5 separate regions of the Homo sapiens genome follow, and regions 1, 2, 4 and 5 are each linked to region 3. The links are contacts of gene promoters, found by promoter capture Hi-C in blood cells and fetal thymus (Javierre and others, 2016). All regions are on one chromosome and are shown on one strand. Each heading gives the region's core, a stretch centred on a gene start or on the middle of the fragment in contact. The rest is flanking DNA. Distances are from core to core; before and after follow the strand shown. Region 1 holds the start of LOC124905023 (a long non-coding RNA gene). Region 2 overlaps WDR4 (WDR4 tRNA N7-guanosine methyltransferase non-catalytic subunit). Region 3 holds the start of U2AF1 (U2 small nuclear RNA auxiliary factor 1). Region 4 holds the start of ERVH48-1 (endogenous retrovirus group 48 member 1, envelope). Region 5 overlaps NDUFV3 (NADH:ubiquinone oxidoreductase subunit V3).

Region 1 (2,700 bases), core at 112-2,611, 150 kb after region 3:
TCTGGCTCAGTGAATCTACATTTTTGCATAAACAATAGGGCATTTGTCTTGGAGAAATAAGCCAAAAGTAATAAATAAATAAATAAACAATAGGGCAGAGGAAGCAATCAGATATACGTTTGTCGCAGCTCAGCAGAGGGCTGACTGAATTCTGTCCTTTGTCCCACACCTGTGAAGATGAGCTACCAATTTACCTTGCCAGGTGAAATTCAAAAGAACTGTTTTAAGGTAAAGATCTTGAGGCCCTCAAGGAATTTCCTTGTGGGGGAAATGGTGAGGAAGGTAGGTAGCTTCCTGTTATCTTCGTAGCAATCTTGCTTAGGAATAAAGTTTGAGGCAGGTTTGCCTGAGGCAGCGTGGGGTCCTGCGACTGACTTTCCTTTCACAGTTAGAACTGTATTTCTGTCCAGAACCAGGTATGAATTCTTGTTAACCCTGGGGGACAGTTTCACTAGTTACATATTAAAAAAAAAAAAAAAAAAAAAGTTTTTCAATGAGGAAAGATAATTCTAAAAGCAATATAAGATTTAGAAAAAAAGTTTTTGAAGTCCTCCGAAAATCATTTTTTCTATTTATACAAAGATTCCTTTTTTAAATTTTCGACTCTTTTTTTGTTTTTGAAGCTTGTCACGCTTAAGGATTTTTAAAATTTTCTTTTTCTTTTTCTTTTCTGAGACGGAGTCTGGCTCTGTCACCCAGGCTGCAGTGCAGTGGCACAATCTCATCTCACTGCAACCTCTGCCTCCCAGGTTCAAGCCATTCTCCTGGCTCAGCCTCCCGAGTAGATGGGGTTACAGGCACCCGCCACCAGGCCCGGATAATTACTTGTTTTTTTTTTTTTTTTTTTCAGGCGGAGTCTCACTCCGCTGCCCAGGCTGGAGTGTGCAGTGGGGCGATCCCAGCTCACTGCAACCTCTGCCTCCCGGGTTCAAGCAATTCTCCTGCCTCAGGCTCCCAAGTAGCTGGGATTATAGGCCCTTGCCACCACACCTGGCTAATTTTTGTATTTTTAGTAGAGACGGGGTTTCACCATGTTGGTCAGGCTGGTCTCGATCTCCTAACCTCGTGATCTGCCCGCCTTGGCCTCCCAAAGTGCTGGGACTACAGGCGTGAGCCGCTGTGCCAGGCCATAAATTTTATTTTTCATTTCCTTGTTTTGCTTTGTTTTTGAAATGATTCTCCTTTAAGCCATATTTACATTATCTTGTTATCCCAAGACCAAAGGATTTTTTAAACAAAGATAAGCTTCAACTCCTATCTTGTTTTACTCATCAGTGATCCTGAATTACCAAAGACTTCTGTATACTCATGTTTCGAATGCCATGTAGGTCAGGAGTCAACTGGAAAAGTTGTTAGGCCGGTATTTCTACGTCTCGCATTTGTCAGCACTTGCCAAAACGGTGACGCAGCGGTGTGTTATCTGCCGACAGCGTAATGCGAGGCAAGTGCCAGCCGTTCCGCCCGGCATACAAGCTTATGGAGCAGCCCCCTTTGAAGATCTCCAGGTAGACTTCACAGAGATGCCAAAGTGTGGAGGTAACAAGTATTTACTAGTTCTTGGGCGTACCTACTCTGGGTGGGTGGAGGCTTATCCAACACGAACTGAGAAAGCTCCTGAAGTAACCCGTCTGCTTCTTCGAGATCTGATTCCTAGATTGGGACTGCCCTTACGGATCAGCTCAGATAACGGGCCTGCGTTTGTGGCTGACAGTACAGAAGATGGCAAAGGTATCGGGGATCACATGGAAACCGCATGCCGCCTCCTGGTCTCAGAGTTCCGGAAAGGTGGGGCGGATAAATCGGACTATCCAAAATGGTATTACTGTCTTCCCCGCTGGATATTAAAAACAATTCCACAAGGGGCGTCAAACCACCTGCCAAATTTGAGGGAATGTTATCCTCTCCCCCGCCCCCCGTCCCCAGATATTAGAGACAATAACACAGGGGTAATGTATACCCACTGCTTTATTGGGAGTAATATCATCCTCTCCCTTCTTGGATATTAGGAACAATATCACAGTGTGCGTGTACGCCTGTCGCGAAATTCAATGTAATGTCATCCTGTGCCTCTGTGGATATGACGAACAATATCACGGGGGATGTACCACTTCTGAGATATTGGGAGTGATATCATCCTCTCCCCTCTGGAAGTTAGGGACAATATCACAGGGGTAGTGTACACTCTCTGTGATGTTGGGACTAATATCATCCTCCCGCCCCCTGGATATTGAAAACCATATCACAAGGGGCGTGTACACACACTTCGATATTGGTATTAATACCATCCTCTCCCTCTTTGGATTTTCAGTGCAATATTTCAGGTGGGGTATACACCACCTGCAATATTGGAAGTAATATTATTTTCTCCCACTGTGGATATCAGCAACAATATCACAGGGGGTGTGAAAAACCCCTGCGACATTCAGAGTAACATCATCGTTCCCCTCATGAATATTAAGAACAATATCGTGGTGGGGGGTGTACACCCCCTTTGATATTTGACATCATCCTCTTCCCCCCTGGATATGAGGAACAATATCAGGAAGGGATGTACAGACCCTGAGACATTTGCTGTCATATAATTGTCTCTCCCCTAGATATTAGGAAAAATGTAACTGGGGATGTGAACACCCCTGCGATATTGGGAGAAGTATCATCCTCTCCCCCGTTGGATATTAGGAACAATATCACAGGGGAGGT
Region 2 (2,700 bases), core at 102-2,601, 250 kb after region 3:
CTTGAGCATGCACCTTTGTGGGTCTGCCAGCCAGGTGGGGCAGGGGTGGGGCCAGGCCCACTCCAGCATTCTCCGGCCAGCTTGGAGCAATCTCATGACACCCTGAAAGCCCAGGCCTTGGCAAAGTTTCCCGCCAAACGGTCTGTTCCATTTCCTAGAGAACTGTGTGGTGTGGCCTCTGCCCCCTGCCAGGCAGCTGTGTAAGAGAGGACCAGGCCTTTTCCTTCATGCTTCACGTGGACTCAGGTTCCTGGAAGTTTCCTTCATTTAAAAAAAATTTTTTTTTTTTTTTTGAGATGGAGTCCCACTCTTGCCCAGGCTGGAGTGCAGTGGTGCTATCTCGACTCACAGCAACCTCCGCCTCAGGCTCCTGAGTAGCTGGGATTAAAGGCGTGAGCCACTGTGCACGGCCTCTTCTTCATTTTTAATATTTCCTCTGCCAGGAACTGTGGGAGCTCACAGGGCAGTTGTATGTGTAGCTCTCATCTCTTCCTTTCCCCTGTGTCCTCCGCTCCCTCTTCTCCTCACTGTCTGACCTATCTTGTTGGCTTTGGAGGCTGTCGCAGGCCCTGCAGGGAGTGCCAGAACCACTGGGGGGCTTTTGTCATCTGCTTGGGAAACAGGGAATCAGCTACCCTCCTTTCCCCACTGATTCCAGAATGTTCCAGTGCTGTTTCCTCTTCCTTGATATGTGGGGGCGTGAGCGTCCTTCGGTCTTGCTCTTGTTGGATCAGAGCGCCCGGCGTCGGGCCCCTGCAGGTGGCGTGAAGTTAATGGGCTTCTTCTCCTTTTAGAAGTTTGCCGCGTCCAGGATTGCATTCTGGTGCCAGGAGAACTGCGTGGCGCTCCTGTGCGACGGGTAAGCTGCGGCGGCACCTCTATGGCCTCCGGTTCTGCAGACCTGCAGGGGGAAGAGTTAGCGGGTTGGCCACTGGCCCACGTCCTCAATGAAGAGGTCCTGAACGGTGGTGGTATTGGTCTAGCACCTCCCTCTGAGAATGTCACTTTTGATGACTGCTGCTGCATGAGGGTGAGGGCTCCTCTCAGCCAGCGCTCTTCAACCTGACGTTGAACTCCCCTGGCGTAAAGAGCACCAGCAGCCTCTGCCTGGCCTTCTGAGATGACAGACTTTCCCCTGGGCCAGTCGTGGTGGCATCACCTCACTCCCGGCTCGGGGCTGGTCGGATGGGAACCCCCTGGGGTTGGCGGTGCTGACAAGGTGGGTTTAGGGGTGGAGTGCAGTTCTGCTGCTTCTTCCCGAGTGACTTGTGTGTGTCAGGAAAGGTATTCTATTTGGTGCTTTCGGCACTTTTCATCTTGTCCTTATGACAGCCTGGGGAGGTCTCTTAGCTCGTTCTGGAAGTACGCAGGTGTGAGAGGAGAGCTGCGCCTGAGCCCAGGGCCTGCGTCCTCCTGCCCTGCCTGCCTGTACCGTGCTGGTTAGCTATTGCTGCACCACGAGCCACTCCAGAGCTTAGGACTTAAAAAAGTGTACGTCACCCCATGGTTTCCCCGGCGCCGGCATTTGGGAGTGGCGCAGCTGGGGCTTTCAGCGTAGGCTCTCCTGAGGTGGCACCGGCGAGGGCTGCACCGTCTGGGGTGCTGGCTGCAGAGCGGAGCCCGTGGGCCTGCAGTCCTAGTAATCATGCTCTCTTTCTTCGTGGCAAGCACTCCTGTGGTCTACATCTTCCAGCTGGACGCCCGCAGACAGCAGTTGGTGTACAGGCAGCAGCTGGCGTTCCAGCACCAAGTGTGGGACGTGGCTTTCGAGGAGACCCAGGGGCTGTGGGTGCTCCAGGACTGCCAGGAAGCCCCCCTGGTGCTCTACAGGCCTGTGGGCGACCAGTGGCAGGTGAGACTCGGCACCTTCCAGATGTCCTATGCCCTGCCTTTCCATAAGCCTGGGGGTGTGGGGCGGCAGCTATGTTTTTTGGGTCCATGGGTAAGCCTCTTTCAACTCAGCCACTTCTGGGGCCCAGGGTCTGTGTCCTGAATGGCAGTGGCTGGGGCTTCCACCGTGGGTGAAGGGAGCCGGGTGCCAGGCCGGCGTGGCTGGCTTGTCCCATGTGGTGATGTCTGCAACAGTTCTTTTTTTGGGTGAGTGTGTGGCCCCCCACACCACACTTAGCGATGAAGTTGGCACTCAGTGTGGCAAGGGTGTGTGGGACTAACACTTGGAGGCTGGATTAGCACAGCCTCGGGCCTGGGGCACTGGCTGAGTCCTCAGGAGCATGTGGAGCCCCGGGTAGAGGAGGGGGCAAGGGCGGCAGGCTGAGCTGCTTTCCTCTGGGGAGACAGTGGGGTCTCTGGGCGAGGGCGGCGGGCCGAGCTGCTTCCTTGCTGGGGGACGGGGCGAACCCTGTACCTTGTCTGCATCGCTCCTGGTAACGGAGCAATGCCCCTGCCCGCCCTGCGTCTCACAGGGTTGCTGTGGAGTTGAGTGGAGTAGGTACCCATTTGCCAAAGCTCAGTTGAGCACTTTGGAAGCACTTTTTTTTTTTTTTTGAGACGGAGTTTTGCTCGTGTTGCCCAGGCTGGAGTACAATGGCGCTATCTCGGCTCACCGCGACCTCCGCCTCCCGGGTTCAAGTGATTCTCCTGCCTCAGCCTCCCGAGTAGCTGGGATTACAGGCATGCGCCACCACACCCGGCTAATTTTGTATTTTTAGTAGAGACGGGGTTTCTCCATGTTGGTCAGGC
Region 3 (2,700 bases), core at 101-2,600:
TTTTGGTTTAAACCTCTGAGGCCCTACTGTTTCTAATACAGGTTTCCAGTTTGCTCATCTTTCCCAGGTAGGAAGATGCTCTGTTGCCAAGAGAAATGCAATTCTAACACGCAAATCCGCCCAAACACTAGAGCTCAGCATTCAGCTCTAGCCGAGCTAAGAGGATCCCATGGTCCTGCCCCACAGTCTGGGGCTCATCTTGTGGAGGAGGTAAGTAAAATAGGCCCTGTCTCTCTGACTTCTACCTAATCAGAGTTGATAGTTGCGTTGGAAATTAGGTAAATCGCAGGTGAGTTGATGAATGTGGGAAACCAGATGAAAATGGCTGCTTGATGGGGTTAAAACGCAGGAGAGGAATAGAACCCTTCCAACGGAATGGTTCCAGCCTTGTGACATGAGGAGACTGAAAGGGTATCCCAGAGGCAGGTCACTGGCCTTCCAGCTCCACCTGTGGGTGGCCTTGGCCAGGCAACTGCAAGAGTGCAGGGCCCCGGGGAGGTCGCACCTGGCAAGCGCTGAGGGAGGGTAAAGCGGAGAGGGGTGTGAGAAGAGAAAAACAACACAGAGCGTCCGAGCTATGTGAGGCGTGCGAGGTTAATCCGGCCCGGAGAGACAGGTCTATGCGGCTTCAGCGGTCCCCACCCATGCCTGGCAATTGTTTAAAGGCACTATTGCTCCGGACCCGCTGCCTTCACCCATGAACTTCCTTTCCTGGAATTATGATATAAAGAACAACGTACAGCCAATTAATAGCTTGTTATTTTCATGTAAATTCTTGGTGAGCTATTTAAGAACTGCCCCCCTCTTAAGCTTTATAAACCCACTTGTCACTGTTGCAAATCCTATGTTCAGGGCAACTTGAAGCTATGCTCCCGGGTTGCAATCTTCAAACTTGGCCCAAATAACCTCTCTACTTATATCAAGTTTGCCTCAGCTTTTTTTTTCTTCTAGGTCGACGGTTCCCGCCCCGCAAGGGTGCAGGGAAGGGGACGCCCGCACTTCCTAGTGCTCCCTTAGCTGGGGTCGAGCTGAGCGCCCCCCACCGAGCCCCAGGCGGCTCTGTGGAGAAGCCCCTCGGCCCCGGGTTCGGTCTGCACTGCCAGCCCCCAGTCCCCGGCGCGCAGGATCCAGCAGGGCCAGCGCCGGGCGGGCGAGAAGGCGAGAGAGCTAGGGCCGGGCGGGGAGGGCACCGGCAGGGGGCGCGGGTTCCCAGGACCGAAAAGGCGGAGCCTCCCACGCGCACTACGTGCTCCCTACGCGCATGCGTCCCGCCCACGCGCAGGCAGCACCTCGCCTGACTGGGTAGCGCTGCCACGTCGGGGCGGGGAAGAGCGTCGTCGCGTCCGGGTGACGTCTCCCGAGGGCGTCGGCAGGGTCGGCGGCGTCGGCAGCAGTGTCGACGGCAGCGGCGGCGGCGGGTGGGAAATGGCGGAGTATCTGGCCTCCATCTTCGGCACCGAGAAAGACAAGTGAGTGGGAGCCCCCCGCCGGGGGTTGGGCGCGATCGGGGCGCAGGGTGGTTGAGGCGGTGGGAGGGCGACCGGGGAGGCCCAGGCGGGCCGGCGCGGCGGTGGCGGGGGAGGGGCGCGCGGCGGGAAGGAGCGGTGGCCCTTCCGGCCCCTTGCGCGCCCTCCGGAGCCGCCGCCTCGTGGGCCGCGCGGCGGAAAACTGGAGCGGGCAGAATGAATGGGGTCTCTTTTCGGGGCGCCGCGGCCGAGCTTTCTCCGGCCTTGGGGTCCGGACTGGCTGATCGCCCGACGTCCGGGCCTCCGAGTCGCCGACTCCCGGAAGCCGCCTCGAGCCGCGCTGAAAGTTGCCTGGAGCATCCGGGCCTTTTGGACGTGGACACGTTTGTTCCAACTTTCGGCTGTGAATGTCCTGTCGAGCAAGCTCTGGTACCAGCCTCGCCAGTATTCAGTCGCTTATCTAACTTAGGGTCCTAAGCGTTGGTGTTTTATCCACTTAGCCAGCCTCTTGCCTGTTTAAGCGACCGCTGGGCCGGCAGTAAGGAGATATGACGAGAAAAAGTATGGTGGAGACTACTGGATTAACTATCTAACCACAAGAGACGTGATCCGCTCTTAACATACAGGTGCTCCTGGATTTACCATGGGATTGCGTTCCGATAAACCCATCATGAATCGAAAATGCCTTTAATACCCCGATAAACCCATCATCTAAGTTGAAAATTTGTAAGTCGGTGACTGTTCTTGAAGACACAATTCTGATATAAGGAAAAAGATGTTTTGATTTTTTCCTTAAGGTTGCATGCCTTCCCTAATCAATCGTTAGGTTAAAAGCAAAACATTTAATTTCAGCTTTAATTGCCACCTTGGCACGTACTAATTTCCAGTGAGTTGGCTGTAGTTTAGACTAAATGGAATGTTTTCAGACGTTTGAAGGATAATTCTTACTTTGAAAACCTAAAGACTCAGCATCTGGCTTAATCTACTCTTTAGTTATCTTGGCATTCTTCAGTGCCATACAAAGTTAACATGACTTTATGTTTTCAATGATAAACCCCTAAGTTTGTCATAGATGTTTTTAATGCCACTTTTTTCAAACGCTATTTAAAATGTTTCTCTTTTCCAGGATGGAGTCTATCTTGTAAAATGTCCTCTTCACACATGGTAGAATCTCCTGTGTTGTTTGGATGAGGAGGCTATATTTCTAGCAAAATTTTAAGCCAAAATCTACCAG
Region 4 (2,700 bases), core at 145-2,644, 180 kb after region 3:
CTCGTGATCTGCCCGCCTGGGCCTCCCAAAGTGCTGGGATTACAGGTGTGAGCCACCGTGCCCGGCTGAGACAGGTCTCTTGTTAATTTAGAAAGTTTATTTTGCCAAGGTTGGGCAGGGACCTGTGACACCGCCTCAGGAAGTCCTGATTGAAAGATTCTCCCAGGGGCCTGAAAGCTTGAGGGAATGAGTAACTCCTCCTCCTCAGGCCCAGTCCCAACGCTCAAACTTGCACCAGCAGCAAGATAGCAGAGGCAGGAAAAGAGCTGGCTGGAAGACACATACTCTCTGAAGATCAAGGGGGAGGCCGTCCGCGTACTACATAGCAGTCACGTCAGGCTGGGACAATTCCTGTTTACAGAGAACTATAAAAGCCCTGCCCCCTCCTCACTTGGGGCTGATGCCATTCTAGGCCTCAGTCTGTCTGCATCCAGGTGCTTATTAAAACAGTGTGTTGCTCCACACCGCCTCGTGTTGTCTGTTGGCGCGCTCTCCGGGTTCCAACCAATGCAAGAGCCTTGGGGCTGGCCCTGAAACCTGCGAGGGGCTTCCGTCCACGTCCCCAGTGGACCTACCACCCCTCCATCTGGGAAAGCAGGCCACAGCAGCCGGACAAAGGAAGCTCCTCAGCCTCTAGTCGCCTCTCTGTGCATGCACATCGGTCACTGATCTCGCCTACTGGTAAGTTTCCTGGGAGCCCGGTTAACAGGGAAAAATCCGCACGGCCTCTCTTGGTTTCTCCAGCCCCAAAATCCAACATGGGTCCAAGAAGGCTATGGCATGGCCGGGCGTGGTGGTTCACGCCCGTAATCCCAGCACTTTGGGAGGCCAAGGCCGTTGGATTCACGAGATCAGGAGTTCGAGACCAGCCTGGTCAACATGGTGAAACTCCGTCTCTACTAAAAATACAAAAATTAGCTGGGCACAGTGGCAGGCCCCTGTAATCCCAGCTACTCGGGAGGCTGAGGCAGGAGGATCGCTTGAACCCGGGAGGTGGAGGTTGCAGTGAGCAGAGATCGCGCCACTGCACTCTAGCCTGGGTAACAGAGCAAGACTCTGTCTCAAAAAAAAAAAAAAATGCTAAGGTGTGTGCCAGGCACTCGCTGATCATCTGGTCTTAGGGGGACTCTAAGCCAGTTGATCCCATTCTGGGAATGAAAAAGGCAGCGGTGACAAACGCTCCTTTTATCGTCTCCCTCCGGCTGTCCAGGACGGTCTGCTTTTCCCGTTCTCCTGAGCCTACCCTCCATTATGGAAAATTCCCAGTCTTCCATTCCAAAGGACAGCCCTCTAGGCTGCCTCATGAAAAACCTGCAAACCTTAGACCTCAGGCGAGATATCCCTCTAAGCACCTTGTTCTTTTTTTGCAATTCAGTCTGGCCACAGTACAAATTGGACAGTGGGTCCAAATGGGCCACAAATGGAACATACGACTTTACAATTTTAACTGACTTAAGCAATTATTGCTGACGGCTGGAAAAATGGGGAGAAATTCCTTATATCCAGGCCTTGTTCACACTCAGATTACAACCTGGCCTCTGCTCTTGCTCACCTGTTCAAATCCTCCCCCTCCATTCTCGCCGCCCTGATCGCCGTTCTCCTCCCGACCCTAACTCTTTTTCCTTGTTGGATCCAGCCAACTGCTGTCCACCCCTTCCAGCCCCTGCCTCTTCCTCTCAACCGTCTTCTTTAACCCCCTAAGCCTCCTCTTTGTCTTCCCAGCCAGCACTGCCTCCAAGAGTATCCACTTCTTTTCCTACACCATCCTCTCCTCAGGACAATTCTTGCACTGCCTGTACCCATTCTCCTCCCCCACCGCTCTCTCCTGAGGCCTGTAAACCCACCCCGCCACCTTCCGCTCCTATCTATCCTCTGCTGCCTATTAACTCAACCCTCCTTCCCCCTTCAAACCCTCAGCAGGAACCACTTCCGGCTTTTCTTTCTTTCCCGCCTATACTCATTCAGGCATTGCTTTTGGCCCATGCCCCACCCTTACTTCAGCGTCTGTGCTAGAATGCCCCCTTCGGGAAGTAGCAGGAACTGAAGATCTTATTAGAGTTCATGTTCCCTTCTCCCTCACTGATCGCTCTTGAATTCACAAAAGACTCGGTTTATTTCCAGAATACCCTGCCTCTTATATTAGAGAGTTTCAGTACCTCACCCAGTCTTATGAACTAACTTGGCATGACCTCTACGTTATCCTCTCTTCCACGCTCACCCCAGAAGACTGGGACCGTATCTGGACCCTAGCTCAGGCACATGCTGATACAATTCATCACCAAGCTGCCGCCCAGCCTGCTGGCACAGAGGCAGTCCCCAGCCAGGACCCCCACTGGGATTATCAAGATGGGGCCTTTGGATGCTGCCATCGAGACCACATGATTGTGTGTCTCCTTGCAGGACTCAAAAAGTGTGCCCATAAAGCGGTAAACTATGAAAAACTTTTAGAAATCACCCAAGGTCCTGACGAAAACCCAGCCCTTTTTCCTCTCTTGTTTAATGGAAGCCATGAGAAAATATACCAACCTAGACCCAGCCAGCCCAGAAGGAACCACTATCTTAAGCCTTCGGTTCATCTCCCAACCCATCCCTGATATCCAGCTCAAGCTTCAGAAGCTTGACGATGGCCCTCAAACCCCACAACGAGACCTTCTCAATTTAGCCCTCAAAGCCTTTAATAATTGTGATGAAGAAAGTGAA
Region 5 (2,700 bases), core at 201-2,700, 200 kb after region 3:
GGGCTCTGCGCATGCGCACAGAAGATAGTTAAGAAACAACACACCCGTGAAATATTAGAACTTTCTCTTCAGAAAGGTTTGCAGTCTGAAAACTCCCAATTCTGTTTTTATCCTGCGAGTTGTGTTATTCGTCTCCATTTTCGAGCAGGAGGAGTGAAAGCAGCAGCATCAGGAAATGCAGTTCCTAAGGGCTGGGAAGTCTGGCAAGCACCGGCACTTGGCGTACTGATCAAAGAGCAGACGGAGAGGGGGGAAAACACATAGATCCTGTCGCACAACGAACCAAGAACAAGAAGGCGTCATGTAAGGCACATAAGGCAAGGGGCGGCGGTACAGAGGATGGAGAGCAGACACAGGACGGAGCCGCGCTTGTTAGGGATCATGCACTTTAGAGAAGTCTTCAAGAAGAGCCATGGATTCTAAAACGGAAGCTTGCCTTTTCATGTTTGCCACGACCCACCTAAAGCGCATTGCATCTTATCAAGTTTCGTGCTCAAGAAAATGGTAACATAGCTGGGCGCAGTGGCTCACGCCTGAAATCCCAGCACTTTGGGAGGCAGAGGCAGGTGGATCACCCGCGGTCAGGAGTTCGAGACCAACCTGACCAACATGGCAAAACGCTGTCTCTACTAAAAATACAATAATTAGCCAGGCGTGGTGGCAGGCACCTGTAGTGGCACCTACTCAGGAGGCTGAGGCAGGAGAATCGTTTGTACGTGGGAGGTGGAGCCGGCAGTGAGCCAAGATTGCGCCACTGTACTGCAGCCTGGGTGACAGAGTGAGATTCCATCTCCAAAAAAAAAAAAAAAAATGGTAACATCATAGGAATAAATACTGTTGCCCTTTAAAAGCCTCCACACGCTAGGCACGGTGGCTCATGCCTGTAATCCCAGCACTTTGGGAGGCCGAGGCAGGTGGATCACCTAAGGTCAGGAGTTCGAGACCAGCCTGGCCTACATGGTAAAACCCTGTCTCTACTAAAAATACAAAAATTAGCCGGGGGTGGTGCCACACGCCTGTAATCCCAGCTACTTTGGAGGCTGAGGCTGGAGAATCACTTGAACCCAGGAGGCGGAGGTTACAGTGAGCCAAGATTGCGCCATTGTACTCCAGCCTGGGCAACAAGAGCAAAACCCATGTCAAAAACAAACAAACAAACAAACAAACAAAAAACCCTTCATAAAATGTCTTCTAGAAGAGTAAAGCAGCCCACATGTGTTTTCAGTTAACCAGAGAAGGAAACGCTGTCCAGGGGAAAGGATGCGTATGCAGCGGCTGACCTGTACAACACTTACTGCTTTAATTCCTGAACTATGAATCTGCCCTGTGCACAGGATGCTGAAAGCAATCATCTAGTTTACCCAAAGACTCTCACGCCAAGCGACTAGCTACTGCTCTTCACCTATGCAAGTTAAACCGGAGGCTCCCCTTTTCACTTAGCGAGATGCCCCACAAGGTCATCAATGAACACTTGGACACCTTCAAAAGTCAGTGGTGACAATGTTAAGCTGCCAGTTTTCAAAAATTATACCGGTTAAGAAATAGTGAAGAGTGCCAAGGACATACTCTTTAAGATGAAGGTTGGGGGCCGGGCACGGTGGCTCAGGCCTGTAATCCCAGCACTTTGGGAGGCCGAGGCAGGCTGATCATGAGGTCAGGAGATTGAGACCATCCTGGCCAACATGGTGAAACCCCGTCTCTACTAAAAATACAAAAATTAGCTGGACATGGTGGTGGGGGACTGTAATCCCAGCTACTCAGGAGGCTGAGGCAGGAGAATGGCTTGAACCTGGGAGGCAGAGGTTGCAGTGAGCCAAGATTGCACCATTACACTCCAGCCTGGAGATGGAGCAAGACTCTGTCTCAAAAAAAAAAAAAGATGAAGGTTAAGCAGGGTGGGGTTGCTCATGCCTGTAATCCCAGCACTTTGGGAGGCCGAGGCGGGTGAATTGCCTGAGGTCAGGAGTTCGAGGCCAGCCTGGCCAACACGGTGAAACCCCATCTCTACTAAAAATACAAAAAAAATTAGCCAGGTGTGGTGGCCTGCGCCTGTAATCTCAGCTACTTGGGAGGCTGAGGCAGGGGAAGTGCTTGAGATGGAAGTTGTAGTGAGCAGAGATCGCGCCACTGCACTCTACCTGGGCAACAGAGCAAGACACCATCTCAAAAAAAAAAAAAAAAAAGAACGTTAAATATTTTAGGGATTCTAAATATAAAGATGTGGATTGTCCATAATTAAGACATACTTTTCTGCCTGGCTGAGACAGCGTTACAGGCCATATTTCTAGTACAGAATTTGACTAATTGTAACACTGCTCTACAAGCATATGTAAATTAGTTCTTTTGCCTCACTACCCTAAGGGACAGGGTGCACTTGGGAGCGCGAGTCAAGGTATACCCTGTGTGCCGCCTCGGTCGTCCCCTGGCGCGGCTGCATCTTCCATGGCCTCGCCCTCGGCCTCAAGCTTCAGCGCTGCTGTCTTTTCATGGAAACCGTGGTTATTCTCAACAGGAACTGTCTCCAAATTGCTTGGTGGTATCTGATCTTCCACGATTGCCTGTCCACCCTTCAGGTGGCCTTCTATTCCCTGCGTCCCTGAGGTTTCCTTTCTGGGCAGGGGAGGGGCCGCCTTGCGCTGGGGCTCTGGCACGGGTTTTTCCAGATGCCCCTCTGCCGCCCCAGGAGGACTGGCTTGCAGC

The links. Contacts are between HindIII fragments. The CHiCAGO score rates a contact against its expected background, and 5 or more counts as called.
Region 1: a contact is called between a fragment that was not itself captured here and the fragment with the promoter of U2AF1 in region 3, in 1 of 17 cell types (endothelial precursors). The highest score is 6.3, in endothelial precursors.
Region 2: a fragment that was not itself captured here is called in contact with the fragment with the promoter of U2AF1 in region 3 in 1 of 17 cell types (erythroblasts); the score reaches 5.2 in erythroblasts.
Region 4: a contact is called between a fragment that was not itself captured here and the fragment with the promoter of U2AF1 in region 3, in 13 of 17 cell types (megakaryocytes, endothelial precursors, erythroblasts and 10 more). The highest score is 18.7, in megakaryocytes.
Region 5: a fragment that was not itself captured here is called in contact with the fragment with the promoter of U2AF1 in region 3 in 2 of 17 cell types (endothelial precursors and erythroblasts); the score reaches 7.6 in endothelial precursors.

What each region holds. Positions count from the first base shown.
Region 1 is chr21:42,954,526-42,957,225 of GRCh38, reverse strand. It overlaps LOC124905023 (a long non-coding RNA gene), which reads left to right and starts at 1,414. Exons shown (of 2, transcript XR_007067882.1): 1 at 1,414-1,536; 2 at 1,642-2,700. RefSeq lists enhancers at 1-214, 215-1,065. The HindIII fragment of the contact is 228 bases long and covers 1,248-1,475 here.
Region 2 is chr21:42,852,721-42,855,420 of GRCh38, reverse strand. WDR4 (WDR4 tRNA N7-guanosine methyltransferase non-catalytic subunit) reads left to right here. Exons shown (of 11, transcript NM_018669.6): 8 at 795-859; 9 at 1,669-1,852. Among named protein-coding and RNA genes, the nearest start is that of WDR4, 25 kb to the left of the region's middle. The HindIII fragment of the contact is 8,131 bases long and covers 1-2,700 here.
Region 3 is chr21:43,106,220-43,108,919 of GRCh38, reverse strand. U2AF1 (U2 small nuclear RNA auxiliary factor 1) reads left to right here and starts at 1,350. Exons shown (of 8, transcript NM_006758.3): 1 at 1,350-1,469. The coding sequence starts at 1,426. LOC101928369 (a long non-coding RNA gene) reads right to left here and starts at 1,230. Exons shown (of 5, transcript XR_937770.3): 1 at 825-1,230. The HindIII fragment of the contact is 2,538 bases long and covers 813-2,700 here.
Region 4 is chr21:42,923,327-42,926,026 of GRCh38, reverse strand. ERVH48-1 (endogenous retrovirus group 48 member 1, envelope) reads left to right here and starts at 397. Exons shown (of 2, transcript NM_001308491.2): 1 at 397-681. RefSeq lists an enhancer at 1-262. The HindIII fragment of the contact is 2,430 bases long and covers 180-2,609 here.
Region 5 is chr21:42,903,975-42,906,674 of GRCh38, reverse strand. NDUFV3 (NADH:ubiquinone oxidoreductase subunit V3) reads right to left here. Exons shown (of 4, transcript NM_021075.4): 3 at 2,399-2,700. Among named protein-coding and RNA genes, the nearest start is that of NDUFV3, 12 kb to the right of the region's middle. The HindIII fragment of the contact is 2,034 bases long and covers 434-2,467 here.